Linked DNA regions of Homo sapiens: all the other regions are linked to region 5. Evidence: promoter capture Hi-C in 16 types of primary human blood cells and fetal thymus (Javierre and others, 2016). All regions are on one chromosome and are shown on one strand. The core of a region is centred on a gene start or on the middle of the fragment in contact, and the rest is flanking DNA. Distances in the headings are between cores, read along the strand shown.

Region 1 (2,700 bases), core at 13-2,512, 1.1 Mb after region 5:
ACCCTAGCCCTGGGGAAAGGAGACCTGGACCCAGCCAACGACCACCGTCCCCAAGCCCTGAGGTGGCCCAGGCCTGGGTGCTGGACCCCAGCAAGGCTGGTCCCACCCTTCCATGAGATCTGCTGTGTCCACACTACCAGCAAGAAGCTCTGCCCCTTTACAGAAGACATCCAGCTCCAGCCCAGCCACAGGGCTCCAAACACTTTTCTGGAGAAAGTCGGGCCTGCCACGCTCACAGAGCCCAGATCCAGCTCTGAGTGAAGCTGGCTGGGCCTCGACCCTGGGTAACTGGGCCCCAGCGCAGAGTCTCCATGTGCACCTGGGGGGGTGTTCTTTTTTTCTTTCTTTTTCTTTCTTTATTCTTCCCTCCCTCCCTCCCTTCCTCCCTCCCTCCCTTCCTTCTTCCCTCCCTCCCTTCCTTCTTCCCTCCCTCCCTCCCTTCCTCCCTCCCTCCCTTCCTCCCTCCCTCCCTTCCTTCTTCCCTCCCTCCCTCCCTTCCTTCTTCCCTCCCTCCCTCCCTTCCTCCCTCCCTCCCTCCCTTCCTCCCTCCCTCCCTTCCTTCTTCCCTCCCTCCCTTCCTTCCTTCCTCCCTCCCTTCCTTCCTTTCTCTCTTTCTTTCTTCCATGTATTTATTTAATTTTACTCACGCTACTTTGACCCTTTCAACTGAAAAAAGTCCCAGCCAATCCCCACATCCAAGAGCCGGCCCTCCTTCCAGGAGCTCCCAGTGCTGACACGGGGGTAGGCCTGATGCTGACTGCATCTGGAATTCAGAGAAGCCAGAGGTCAGAGTGAGCCCCCAGCTCTGCTTCCAGCTCAGCCCCTCCCTGGACCTCAATTAACCCCAGGCCTGAGCTGAGTTTAGAATCCTGTAGCCTGTCTGAGATTCAGCTTTGATGACCAACTCAAGCCCCCAACACACACGCACGCTCACAGATACAGAGTCACTGGCACAGAGACACACACACGTACACACAAAGAGACACACAGACACACACAGGAAAAGACACACAAACTGAGAAAGCGACACAGATACACACAAACACACAGACACACACAGAAATACACACAGACACACACAAGCACGACACATACACAGATACACAGAAAAAGACATACAGACACACAGACAGACACACAGGAACACAGAGAGACACACACACAGATACACACAGAGACAACACACAGGCACACACACATCTGTGACGCTCTGAAGACTCAGGCAGGGCTGTCCGTCACCCAGCACAGCCTCATCCTGCCAACCAGGCTGGACAGGGCCCCTGAGGCCATTGCGGGGGCAGAGCAAGTTTGCACGGGGAAACCCACGTTCGTTCCCTCATAACGCTGGCTGCAGCATCCCAGGCAAAGGCTTCCCAGGCTGAAGGGGGCTCCGTGCAGGAGGAGGGGCCCCCACATGCCACCCCATGCCCCACTTTCCTCCCTCTCTCTTCCCACCTGCCACCTCCGGCTCCGCGGCAGGGAGTTCTGGTAACAGCTAGACACACGGGCAGAAACCCACAAAAAGACTCACACACGTGTGTGTGTATTCCAAGGAAGAAGTGAAAGCTCTGCTCCCGTTGCCATGGCAACCCCACCCGGAGCTACAGCAAGAGCTTTAATTGGCAGTACTTATTTGGCTGAAACCCCAAGAATAATCAACAGGAGATTAGAAACATTAAAAACCAGCAGGAGCATCCTGGAGAAGACGATGACAGACAGGACGATCCCCCTGAAAACTCTATTGATGACAGTAATGACAATTGTACGGTTTATTGCGTGACCGTGTCACGCCAGCCTGTGCTAAGTTCTTTGCATGTGTTATTTCGTTGGATCCTTCCAACAGCCCTTTGATCATTTCTCCCATTTTGCAGATGGAAAGTTCTCTGAGGCTCAGAGAGGTAAAGGAAGTGGCCCAAGGCCACACAGGATTTAAAGACTGCTTGGAATGACTCCGAACGCCACCTTGGTCATGACGGTCATGAGCACTGAGCTTTGCCTGGGGTCCCCCAGAAGGCACCAGCGTCAGCAACTGGGACCCCTGTAGCTCTTCCAAGGCAGCTGACACCCCCTATGCCCCCAGTGGCTAAAGACCACAGCTCAGCCAGCCAGAGGGCCTGGCCAGGGTTGACCTCCAAGACACCAGCCAATGCCTGCGTCCAGGTTGCTGCCAGCTTTACCCCTCAGAACTCCCGTCCCTGCCGCTCCTCCGGCCACAGCATCCACCCTGCAACCCGCCATGGGCCTGCTGACCCCTGGTGGCAGCCATGGGGCATGGCACCAAGACGTGGACTTAACTCCCAGACCCTAAGGAGGAGGGCGCTGGTCCAGGAGCTCCCCATGCTTGGGAGAGCCCCTGCGAAGGGTTCTGGGGGGGGCCAGAGCCAGGCAGGCAGGGCAGCGTGGCCAGCACCCAGCACCTTTTGCAGGCGCTCAGAAGGGAAGAGGGGGCTCCGGGAAAGGCTGCCCTGTAGTTGCTCCCTTTTCTGCTCAGGCAGCAGCTGACAGGGGAGGCCAGTTAGCACCAGGGATCCTCTGGCCATGACAGTCCTGCCACCAACGACAAGCAAGTGAATGAGGACTGTCCTGCCCAGAGCCCAGCCAATCGGCACTGCAGACAAGGGACGCTGACCTGGACTGGGTCCCTGGCCAGGTCCTAGACCTGGAAGGGCTCTGCCATCCCATTCACAGCCCCCAGGCCAC
Region 2 (2,700 bases), core at 13-2,512, 1.3 Mb after region 5:
TCTTACGAACACTACTCACTTTTTCTATTGGCAATAAACATTTTCAACTCTGATACCCAGCAACAACAATCTGCCAGCCTAGAGGTCACCCTGAAATTACTCTACCTGAACCGGGTGGAACCTGCCGCTACGGGCATGTCCCAAATACAAGTTTATGGCTATGCCTCTCCCTTCTGTTTACCACTAAAAATAATCACTCTGAGGCCAAAAACAACAACAACAGCAACAGAGCCCCAGAGCTGCTTGTCTCAGCTGATCCAACCTTAGAATCTAAAGAATCCATCTTTAATCAGAAGAGTCAGCCGCTCCAAGTGCAGCATGTTTGAAAAGTTCAGATGGTTGTACCAGTACAATTACTGATTGATAAGGACATATGTTCTTTTCCAAAAATCATTTATTGACCCTCCAGTGTGGGAACAGCCCCAAGCTAAAGAATTTATAACGAACCTGGAAAACACAAGTCAGCTTTCAAGAAGCTCGAGCCTCGAAGGCTTCATAAACGACAGATGAGGCAGGCACAAAACTGCGAGCAACAGAGCCACATGGCTGCACCCCTCGGGTCACCCCAGCAAAGTCATATTCGACCAGGTCACCGGTGCCTGACCACCCAATTCCCGCCTCACTCAGCCAGGCAGCACCCAGCTGAGGAATACCTGTACACACATCCTTCAGTCTAGGGAAACTTAACGAGCGCCACTGCCATACATTTGGAAAGGAACATTCTCTACATCAACTGAAACTGCACTATTAAAAGGTTAAGTCAAGCCCATCAAATCGCCTGCAGGGCAAGGTCACTGGAGACAGAGGGAGACGGGCTCTCTGTCACCCCTGCCTCGCAGCTCACTTATCTGCACTGGTCAAGTTTCCTCCTTGACAGCATAAACAGATTAATAAATCATTTAAATGCTCCTGTCTTAATGCCTTCATCTTCAAAAACACGGACACCATTTTGCCTCGGGGCCCAGTTTCCATTTTTCACCCGCAGTGATGGAAGTGGAATTGGGCCTCTGCCGATGTGCCTGGATGAAGAGGCCGCAGCCGGGCACCCCCCATGGCACGGCCACATGACCTGGCACCTGCATGACATGGGCTCCTCAGACAACGCTGGGCAGCAAGGCCAGAGAGGAGCTGAGCAGGAACAGAATGAGTCCCTTCCAAAGAACTGTTTTAATAAGCCTTTAACAGGATATCTTCAGCCAGGCAAACAATGCAGAGACTTCATGCAGTTCCTACCCTCTGGCTCAGACTCACACTGCGGGTTCGGAGGGCTTCCCAGACACTACCCCTCAAAGACAGCAGGGATCGGGGGAGCCCAGATTTCCACAGCAAAGCATCATGACAGGGACAGGGACAGCCCCCTGCCCCACGAATTATCCAGCCCACAATGTCAGCAGTGCCAAGGTTGAGAAACTCTCATTTGGAGTAAAAATGTAAACTTTAATCCTGGCTGAAAGGATAATACAACATCTTATCCATCTCTGCACTTCCAGCTCCTAAACACAGCCTGGCACACAGAAGACCCTTAACCAACATTTCTTGAATAAAAACTACTGCCCACTGGGTCCCTGCTTATGGAAAAGCACATGACTAAATACTCCAGCAGCACTTAGGGGATGCACACTCTTTATCTCTCATGAGCAAATGAATCAAGTCAGGAGGAGCTTATTTTTTTCTTGCAAATTAATTTAATTTCTTTCTTTCTTTTTTTTCATAGGTTTTTGGGGAACAGGTGGTATTTGGTTACATGAGGAAGCTCTTTAGTGGTGATCTGTGAGATTACGGTGCACCCATCACCCGAGCAGTATCCACTGAACCTAATTTGTAGGGTTTTTTTTTGTTTGGTTTTTCTTTTTTTTGACAGAGTCTTGCTCTATCACCCAGGCTGGAGTGCAGTGGCGTGAATCTCAGCTCACTGCAACCTCCACCCGCCGAGCTCAGGTGATTCTCTAGCCTCAGCCTCCCAAGTAGCTGGGATTACGCGTGTGTGCCACCACGCCCAGCTAATCTTTAAATTTTTAGTAGAGACAGGGTTTCACCATGTTGGCCAGGCTGGTCTCAAATTCCTGATCTCAAGTGATCCATCCACCTGGGCCTCCCAAAGTGCTGGGATTACAGGCATGAGCCACTGCACCCGGCCTCAATTTGTAGTCTTTTATCCCTCACCCTCTAGGATCAAGGAGTTTAAAGCACTTGTCTGAAGTCCCACTGGGATCAGTGATGGAGTAGGACACTAGCCCATCCTACCTCAACTCCGACGCCCATGGCGAAAGCCAGTTCTCCCTCTGGCCTAAAGAGCAACTCCTTGGCTTACTTAGAAAAGTAAGTGAGCAGACATGATTATAACCCAAAGCAAGAAATATCTAACCCCAGCTCTACCAAAATAAAAACATTTAGCTGGGTCTGGTGATGCATGCCTGTAGTCCCAGCTACTTGGGAGGCTGAGGAGGGAGGATCACTTGAGCCCAGGAGTCCAAGGCTGCAATGAGCTATGATCGCACCATTGCACTCCAGCCTGGGCAACATAGTGAGACCCCATCTCTTAGAAAAGAAAGATCCCACACTATGCTGCTGTGAACACACAACAACAAAATTGACAAACTTACAGCTTTCCATTGTCCCCAGATGACTGACAGTTCAATCACTGTACAATTAAACACTGGAAACGTCACAGAGACCAATCATTTCTCCTTCTGAAAACCA
Region 3 (2,732 bases), core at 111-2,610, 1.3 Mb after region 5:
TGCAGGGGGTGGGAGGCGCTGTCAGGGTCCGGGAAGCCTCCTTCCCGGAATGGAAAATGTGTAATGCCTGAGACCCAGATGCCTTGGGGAGCTTTTGGGGAAGCAGAGGTCTGATTAAGCACTGCCTGGAATTCCCTCATTCATGAGCATTCTTTCAGCACCTACCCTGCGCCCGGGAGAAACGGTCTTGAACACAGCAGACAAGCTCGCTACCCCCATAGAATGTAAAGAAACGGGGCACAAATTAGCATACAAAAAGACACAAGTGTGACCTACGGAAACTGCACAGAGGAGGTGCAACGAACGGAGCCCTGGGTTAGGACCGGGAGGCGCTGCCCACCATCAACAGAAATACTCCTCCTTTTGCCAACTACACACGCGAGAGGCTGGATTTCCTTCACAGACGTCCACCAAAGCCACACATCGCGACACACGGAGGCAGAAAGCAGCGGTCTCCTAAGAAGTTAGACACGAGGAATCTCGGGCAGCGAGGTGCCTGCAAGCCCGGGGGCGGGCGGGAGCAGCCTGCACGCGTGGGGAAGGGCACGCGGGAGCGGGTGGCGCCTTCCGGGCCGGGTCGGCCGGGAGGTTCCAAGGCAGGAAAGGGGCGCAGAAGGCCGGGACGGCGCCGGGTACAAAGCCTCGCAGGGACGCCCGAAGGCCGCAGAGCCACCGCGGGGAACTGACAGCCGGAGCCGGAGCTGGAGCCGGGGGGCGGGGAGGAGGGGCGGAGGGGCGCGGCCAGGCGGGGTCCGCGGACTCCGGCCTGGGAAGGATGCGCGCGGACTAGGGCGCGGGGAGCCAAGGCCCAGAACATCGGTACCGCGCTCCCTTCAGCCGAGGGGCTGCAGAGAGGCCAGGGGGCAGGGGGCAGGGGGCAGGGGGCAGGGGGCAAAGGGCAAGGGCAGAAAGGAACCCACGTAGCCAAACGGCACCCAGCGGCCCCGACCCCAAGTGTCCCGACGAGGGGGGACGCCTGCGACTAACGCGGGGACAGCCCCCGCCGCGCGCCACCGCCGCACCCCAGGCACCGGGCCCCCACGCAGGGACGGCGTGGACCACCCTACCCCCGAACCCCGAGGCTCTGGCCAACACTGAGGCCCCCTGTGCCTCGAGGCCGCGTCCAACCTCCCCCGCGGCGCCGGCCCACATGGTTCCGCCCGCCGCGGGCCGCGTTACCTAGGAGACCGACCCGCCGCGGCCGCGCCGGAGGCCACGGAGCCCACGCTTTTCAGAGAGTCTCCACTCGACGGACCCAGAGGCCCGGCGGCCGGTGCTCAACGGAGCCACAAGCCTGAGGACCGAGGACTGGCCGAGGGGCGCGCCCCGTCCGCTGCCACCCGCGGGAGGAGCCTCGGAAGGCGGCGCACCGCGCCGCACACTCAGTCCAAGAACCCGCCTCGCGTCACTGTCGCCGTCAGGGCCGCGGAGCCAATCAGAGCCCAAGTCGAGGGCTGCGCTTTGCGAGCGCCAGCCAATCGGTGCGGCGGCGGGCCCATCCTGATTTGCATGTCCGACGACCCCTCAACCAATGGTAATGTGACTGGCGTGAACAATAGCCAATCAGAAGCTGGAAGAGGCGTGGCCCCGGGCGTCCCACGAGGTGAAGATGCTGCTGGCGGAACCTGCAGGAGCTAGCGGGATTCGGGGGCGCTAAAGTCGCAGGGGCAGGGCGGGAAGGAAGATCCGGCGCGGGGCACAGGATCCGGAGCTGGAGCCCCCAGGTGAGTACCGGGGAGACCCCGGCGGGGCGCGCTTTCCACCAAGCTGCTCCGGGACGGCGGCGGCGGGTATCCGCGAGGCCCGCGCTGCGGCAGGCGCCGCGGTCCCGTCTCCATCTCTTCTTCCCCGGCCCTGCGTCCCTGCCTCCGCCGCTGTCTCACCTCCTCTCCAGCCTCCTCACCTCCTTCTCCATCGTCTCCCTTCCCCCATCCCTTTCTGTCTTTCCTTCCCTGTCCTCCCGCCCGCCCGACCCTTCAGCTCGCATCCCTGACCCCTGCCCCTGCCGCCGTCCCTCTTCCCGGTGCACCTCTTCCCCATCTCTGCCCGCTCCGGTCCTAGCAGCCTCGCCCTCCCCTTTCCTCCATCCTCCTCTCATCCCCTCTCCCGGCCTCTGCGCAGCCCCACCGGGGCGCTGCTGTTCCCGGTCCTCCCCATCTCTCCTCCTGATCGCTTCTCAAGGCTCATCCGTCGTTCTCGCTGCCTGTCCCTGTGTCGCTCCGGTCCCTTTCCCCACCCTCCCATTCTGCCCCCAGCCCCTCCGACCTCTCCCCGCGGGCACGCTCTCACCACCTTACCCTGCTCCCCAAGACTGTGACCCTGCTTCCTGCACCAGTTCCTCGGGCTGTTTACAGCACACACACCGCCACTTCTGACCCTGAGCCCCTACTCCTATCTTAAGCTTCTCCCTCCTGCCAGGCCTTGGCACAAAGCACTTCCGCACCTCCCTACCTGCTGCTGCTCCCAGGATGCAAAGACCCCACTGCTGCACCGCGTCCTGCGGCATTAGCAGCAGCCGGGGTACCTGCCCACCTTCCCACCCCGCCAACCAGCCGCATCCTGGTGTCCCTCCTCCTGGCATTTGTCCTGGGGGCTCTTACAGGGACTGTGCTTTGCCCGCAGCATCCCGGGGTGCTCCAGGTGGAAAGCCCCTTAGCACCTTTCCTCCCTGGCCACCGTCTCCTTCCCTCCCCACCCCCACTTTCCTGCTCAGCCTCACTTTGTGATTCAGC
Region 4 (2,700 bases), core at 18-2,517, 1.3 Mb after region 5:
GCTGCCTTTGGAGCTACACTAAGATCTAAGACCTGGACAACCCACCGTCCACATTTTAATGAAGGACCACAAAAGATGGGGTAAAGCAGCTTTCACAGCATTTAGCATGCTGTGGGTGGGTCCTAGCCAAGAGAAGATAAAAACAGATGGCACTCCCGAATCTACTAAGACCTCAGCACAGACAGTTCTGCCAGGTCAGAACCTCAGCGAAGTTTCTCTTCAACACAGGAAATGTGAAAGCCAGATGAGTAACAGAATATTCAAGGATTTACCTGCTAAAGGCAAGAAACTGTAGCACCATCTCGTTGCTTTGTAGACAATCTGATTCTTCCTTCTGAGGGTTAAACGTCACAGGTTCTGTAGCGCTGACAGCCTCGGCTGGCTGTTTATTGGCATCCAGAATCTCGGGAAAGCCGGAGGACTGCAGGAGCACCATGGAGGCTCTCGAGGGCTGCCCTGCAGAGCTGAGACACAGAGACTCCTCAGGTAGCCTCCCGGGAAAGGGGGGACCCATTGATGCACCTCCCTGTGGAAACCCTGGGGTTCACAAGGTCCAACAGTCTGACGGCACAGCACGTGACTGGTTCCATCCCACCCAGACCCACACCTCACCTCCTGGTCTGGGTTCCCACAACAATAGGGGCATGCAAAGGCGTGAACGGCAGCTCCTGTAACTGTTCGGCAATGGATGTTTCCAGGACCAGGGAGGTCTGGCTCAGGTCGGCTTCCAGGTGGGAGATACCGGCCTCCAACGGGAACTCCTGCTGAACAAAACGAGGGCTTCCAAGTGAGGCCACCAAGGACCCCAACCCGTAACAACCAACGGTGCTCAGATCTAAGGGGATTCATCGATTAATTGCCTCTGGAGGGTTGCCAGCTCTAGCAAATACAAAAGGTTCAATTACACTTGAATTTCAGGTAAACAACAAATGATTTTAGTATAAGTATGGTCCCTACGATATTTGGGATATACTTACACTAAAAAATTATTTGTTGTGTACCTGAGGTTCAAATTTAACTGGGCATCCTATATTTCACGTGGCAATCCAATGTGTGAGTTGAGAAGCGGTGAGGAGGGAATCCTAATTTTATGAGCAGGTCAGGACCGTGGGAGATACCTGACACCTGAGATGGTAAATTCATATCAAAGCATGTTTATAGAACAGAAAGATGAAGCTTCCTCAATACTCCAAGATAAACTGTGGCACCGAGCCCCTGGCTGGCGTGTTTGGACAGTCTCTTGTCCCCACAGCCCCTGAAACTTCTTGTCATTCACTCGTATTCCACCTCCACTCCCCTCCAAGGCCGAGGCAGGCCTCTCAGAGAGGAGCTGGCTTGGGAGTTGGGAATGTGCTCTCTCAAGCTTCATTCCCAAGCTTTCTGTTTCAGCCCAGAGGAAACCAGGTCACCCTCACACCATGTCTCATGCGCCAATAATAAAAAGCTAGGCAAGCTCTTCACAAACACATGAGCCCCAGAGATGCTTTAGATAAAGCAGCAGAGACTCATGGTGCTAGGAGTGTTTTCAAACAAGGAATTAAAAGAAACTATTTTTCCTCAACATAATTCCAGTTAAGACCAAAGATGCAGTTTGCAGGTGAACCAGCCGACTTTGGAAACCAAACTCCATAGGAATTCCCCAAGGCCAGTGGCAATGCCAGTCTTAGCCAGGAGCACACCCTGAAGCCAGGATGGCGGGCTCCACTCACCTCCTTTAGCTGCTGATAGCAAGGAGGGTCCTGGGGTGCTGGGTGCCTGTCTCAGCCTGTCTATAGATATAGCCACACCTTCCTTTTACTTTCACGTAGAGACCTAGGGGTAGCTTAACTTTGTTTTCATGGGTAGAGCACAATCTGAGTCAAGCGCTGTGGTATGAAGAACTCATGGGCCACATTCTTCTTTGGTCTCCAAGACAGAATGGTGACAACTGTCTGAGGCCTCAGAGTAAGCAATGCCCCACTCCCACCCACATCCCAGGTAACCCGCCAAGGTCTCTGCCACCTAACTAAGGACAGGCACAGTGCAAAAACCCAAAATGAGGAGCTGTGGAGCCATTCCTTGGTGGAAGGCAAGGCGGCAGGTGGGCGGCACTTACTGCCTGGGCCGGGGAGGCCTGAGAGCCATGGGGTAGCTGTGAAGTAGGCCTGGCCAAGCAGTGCTGAGTCGGGGACCGCGGGGAGGCCGCCAGCTGGGAAATTGACAACTGGAAGGAAAGAGAGCACAGGTGAGGGGCTCAGAAGCTTGCCAGTCCGTCCACAAAGCTCCCAACATGCACTGGCCACACCGGGGAACGGGGTAGCCCTGGATCCAGCCACGGAAGGGAGTGATGCCTGCAGCCTCCTGGCCAGGGCAGCTCTGGAACCTGGGACCGCTTCTCAAGTTCCTTTATTTAATGACAGAGAGGTGATTCCATGATCTCCCCCAGATCATAATATCTGAATAAGAATATTATTAACAAGGAAAACAAGCAAGAAAGGAGAAAGCATCTCAAGCTACAGGGGCGGCCTGGCCTCTGCCTCTCTGTCCCTTGCCAGCACTGGACTGAGCACCTCCAAGGCCCTGCCAGTTCTAGCCGCCTGCGTTCCTATCGAACAAACCTCCCTGTTAAGGCAATGACCATCTTGATGGCCAGCGCGGGCTCTGGAGACAGCTGTGGATAGAGTGCCCGTGCCAACGTGGCATTACCGTGGAGTGCCCGCA
Region 5 (2,700 bases), core at 20-2,519:
CTGAGCCCCAAGCCATGGTCCTCCTGGCTCTGCCCTTCCACCCCCTCACTGGCTGCCCCTCCCAGGGAGGCCTCACCTGTGAAGTGCTTCCCGCCCCTCTCACCCCCCACGGCTCTCACATGGCCTGGGGCGATTCCAGAGCTGGCCTGGGTCAAGCACCTGCACAGAGCACAGAGCGAAGGCTCGGCATGGTATATCCCCCGCCCCTTGCACCTTTCCCCAGTGAAGGGTGGCACCAGTGTCCTTTCCAAGGCCCGGATTCTGCACTGCCCTCAGCCTGTGGAGGATTAAAAGCAGGGTTTTGCCGTGGTTTCTCAAGGCGTCAGCGGGTCTGCAGAGGATTCCGCCCCATGTCACTTCTCTCAGTGAAAGGTCCCCGCCCAGCGTCTGTCCTCCTTTAAGTGCCCCCCATTTGTTTTTTGTTGTTGTTTTTGTTTGTTTTTTGCAAATACAGACTAACCAGGTAGGCACAGAGGAGTCCTGGCATGGGAAGGGAGCAGTGAAACGCCGGTGGAGAGTCCGGGAGGCCCAGATTCCCTGGAACTTTCCAGTGACTCCTCCGGAGCAAGGGCCTGGCCAGGCAGCAGCTGCGCTGGGCGATGAGGGACCGTTGGGTAATTGGGGGCATAGGACCGGGCTTCGCTGGGTTCGGGGCAGAAGCGCCGAAGCTCCGACCCGGAACGCGGTGACTTCATCAACGCAGAAGCCCGCGCAGCCGAGCAGAGGAGTCCCTCGTAGGCGACCCTCGGACAGACGCTCCTGCGCGGCCCGCGTGGCTCAGCTCCGCCCCAGGAAACTTTTCGCGCAGCCCCCGCTCCATGCGCCCCCACCCAGTCCTTCTTCGGGGCCGCCCCCTCCCCAAAGTAGCTCTCCGGGTCCACTGGGCGCCCCCGTAACCGGGTCGGAACCTCGAACGGCTTCGCGTGCCATCCGGTTACCCTGGCAACACCATCCGGCGGCGCCCGGCGGTCCAATCCTAGCCTGCGGCCTCTCTCGAGCCTTTCGCAAGGTGGGGACCGGGACGCGACCGGGGATGGGGAAGGGGGCTGCAGGAGGCCCCGCCTGCGCTGTCGCCCCTGCTGGGCACAGCGCCCCCCACCACCCGCGGCGACCCCGGCCCCCGCAAGGTGGGGCGGCGAGCAGGAGCCGGGGCCAGGCCAGGGGCTCGAGCTCCCGTTCGAGGGGCGGGGAAGGCGGGTGACGTGAGCCGGGCCGGGCGGGCGGAGTTGGGACCGGCTCCGGGAGGCGGGGGCGAGCGCGCGGAGAGGCAGACGCGAGGAGGGAGGCGGCTGAGCAGCGCGGGCGGCTCTGCGGCGGGCGCGGTGGGCGCGGGCGGCGGGGCCCCGGGATCCCCGCGCGCCTCCTCCGCGCGGCGCCGCCGCCGCGCGTCCCCACGCCCCGCGCTCCACGGCGCCCTCGCCCCGCGCGCCTCTCGTGCCCGCCTCCTGCCAGTCTCCGGGCCGCGGCCGTCTGCAGAGCGAGCGCTCAGACGGAGCCCCCGGGCAACTTGAGTGGCGCCGATCGGCGGCGGAGCCTCTGGCAGAGCCCCCCGACCCGGCAGCGCGGAGGGGACTCGCGTCCGTCCGCGTCGCGTCACCCCAAACCCTAAGCAGCGCCGCCCCATCGGCGCGGAGCTCCGGCTGGAGGCAAGAGCCGCGCGCCGGGAGACACGCACCGTGAGCGGCAGCGCCGCCGGCCTCCCTCCTCGCCGCCCCGGAGGGCGAAGCCGCGGCTCCCCAGCCCTTTGCTGCGCCGCGACAGCGCCGGAACACGCCCCGCCTCGCTGCCGCCTTCGCTGTGCCGCCGGCGGAGGGGGCCGCGAGCCCCGCGCCCCGGCCGGAGGATGTGCGCCCCCGCGGGCCGCCCAGCCTGAGCCATGCGCCCCAACGGCGGCGGCGCGCCGGCCGGCATGGAGCCCCGCGCGGCCGCGCTCTGACTCGCTGTGCGCCCCGCGGCCGGCGGGCGGCGGGAGGCGGCGGACCGAGAGCCGGAGACCGGCGCCGCGGGACGGAAGCGAGCGGGCGCGGGCGCCGCGCAGATGGCCTGGGCGAGCCAGGTCTGAGGCCCCGCTCCCCGAAACGTGACCATGTGGATTCAACAGCTTTTAGGACTCAGGTGAGCGACCCGGCCGGCGCCGGGTGCGTGTGGGCGCGTGGGTGCCAGGCTGGGCGGAAGCGGCGCTTTCCTCTATGTTGCAAATCAAGGGACCCCTCTTCGCTTCCCGCAAGCGGGCAACGGGGTGCACCGGTAGCCGGAAAGGGGCGCCCGCCCGGAGCCTGGAGCAGCACCGCGGCCCTGGCGGGGAGCGGCCGGGTCTCCAGGGTTCCGCGCGTCCGGGGTCGGGGCAGCGGCGCCCGCCCCAGCAACCCGGGAAGTGGGGCCGGCCAGGCGCGCCCGCAGCTCTAGGAGCCAGCAGCGCAGTGTCCTGGCCGGCTGCCCCGGCGCGCCTCCTCCCCGGGGCCCGGGGCGAGGCGCCGGCCGCTGGGCGCGGCGGGCGCGGGGGCCGGGGCTGCCGGGGAAAGCTAAAGCTCCGGGCTCCCAGCGAGAGCTTCGCAGGCGGAGTTGGAGGAAACCACAGCCAAACAGCCACTCCGCTCCCCCTTCTCCTTTCTCGGGGCCCCGGGGCTGAGCAGGGGCCTCCCAGGCTCCCAGCTGCCGACCCAGCTGTTTGCGGGTGACCTCCGGGCCCGACGGGCGCTC

What was found. Contacts are between HindIII fragments. The CHiCAGO score rates a contact against its expected background, and 5 or more counts as called.
Region 1: a contact is called between a fragment that was not itself captured here and the fragment with the promoter of AJAP1 in region 5, in 1 of 17 cell types (naive CD8 T cells). The highest score is 5.5, in naive CD8 T cells.
Region 2: a fragment that was not itself captured here is called in contact with the fragment with the promoter of AJAP1 in region 5 in 1 of 17 cell types (endothelial precursors); the score reaches 5.9 in endothelial precursors.
Region 3: the fragment with the promoter of NPHP4 here is called in contact with the fragment with the promoter of AJAP1 in region 5 in 1 of 17 cell types (endothelial precursors); the score reaches 6.4 in endothelial precursors.
Region 4: a contact is called between a fragment that was not itself captured here and the fragment with the promoter of AJAP1 in region 5, in 2 of 17 cell types (total CD4 T cells and naive CD8 T cells). The highest score is 5.7, in total CD4 T cells.

What each region holds. Positions count from the first base shown.
Region 1 is chr1:5,743,729-5,746,428 of GRCh38, forward strand. No RefSeq gene overlaps it. Among named protein-coding and RNA genes, the nearest start is that of MIR4689, 120 kb to the right of the region's middle. RefSeq lists an enhancer at 2,070-2,700. The HindIII fragment of the contact is 4,867 bases long and covers 1-2,700 here.
Region 2 is chr1:5,971,048-5,973,747 of GRCh38, forward strand. The region is part of intron 3 of NPHP4 (nephrocystin 4); the gene reads right to left. Among named protein-coding and RNA genes, the nearest start is that of NPHP4, 20 kb to the right of the region's middle. RefSeq lists an enhancer at 570-1,069. The HindIII fragment of the contact is 8,814 bases long and covers 1-2,700 here.
Region 3 is chr1:5,991,065-5,993,796 of GRCh38, forward strand. It overlaps NPHP4 (nephrocystin 4), which reads right to left and starts at 1,361. Exons shown (of 30, transcript NM_015102.5): 1 at 1,180-1,361. It also overlaps a transcript of KCNAB2 not described here. RefSeq lists enhancers at 1-784, 2,661-2,710 and silencers at 861-1,040, 1,191-1,360, 1,401-1,580, 1,661-1,910. The HindIII fragment of the contact is 3,854 bases long and covers 1-2,399 here.
Region 4 is chr1:5,905,020-5,907,719 of GRCh38, forward strand. It overlaps NPHP4 (nephrocystin 4), which reads right to left. Exons shown (of 30, transcript NM_015102.5): 13 at 2,096-2,203; 14 at 613-764; 15 at 273-464. Among named protein-coding and RNA genes, the nearest start is that of MIR4689, 44 kb to the left of the region's middle. The HindIII fragment of the contact is 187 bases long and covers 1,175-1,361 here.
Region 5 is chr1:4,653,340-4,656,039 of GRCh38, forward strand. It overlaps AJAP1 (adherens junctions associated protein 1), which reads left to right and starts at 1,270. Exons shown (of 6, transcript NM_018836.4): 1 at 1,270-2,115. The coding sequence starts at 2,087. The HindIII fragment of the contact is 10,824 bases long and covers 1-2,700 here.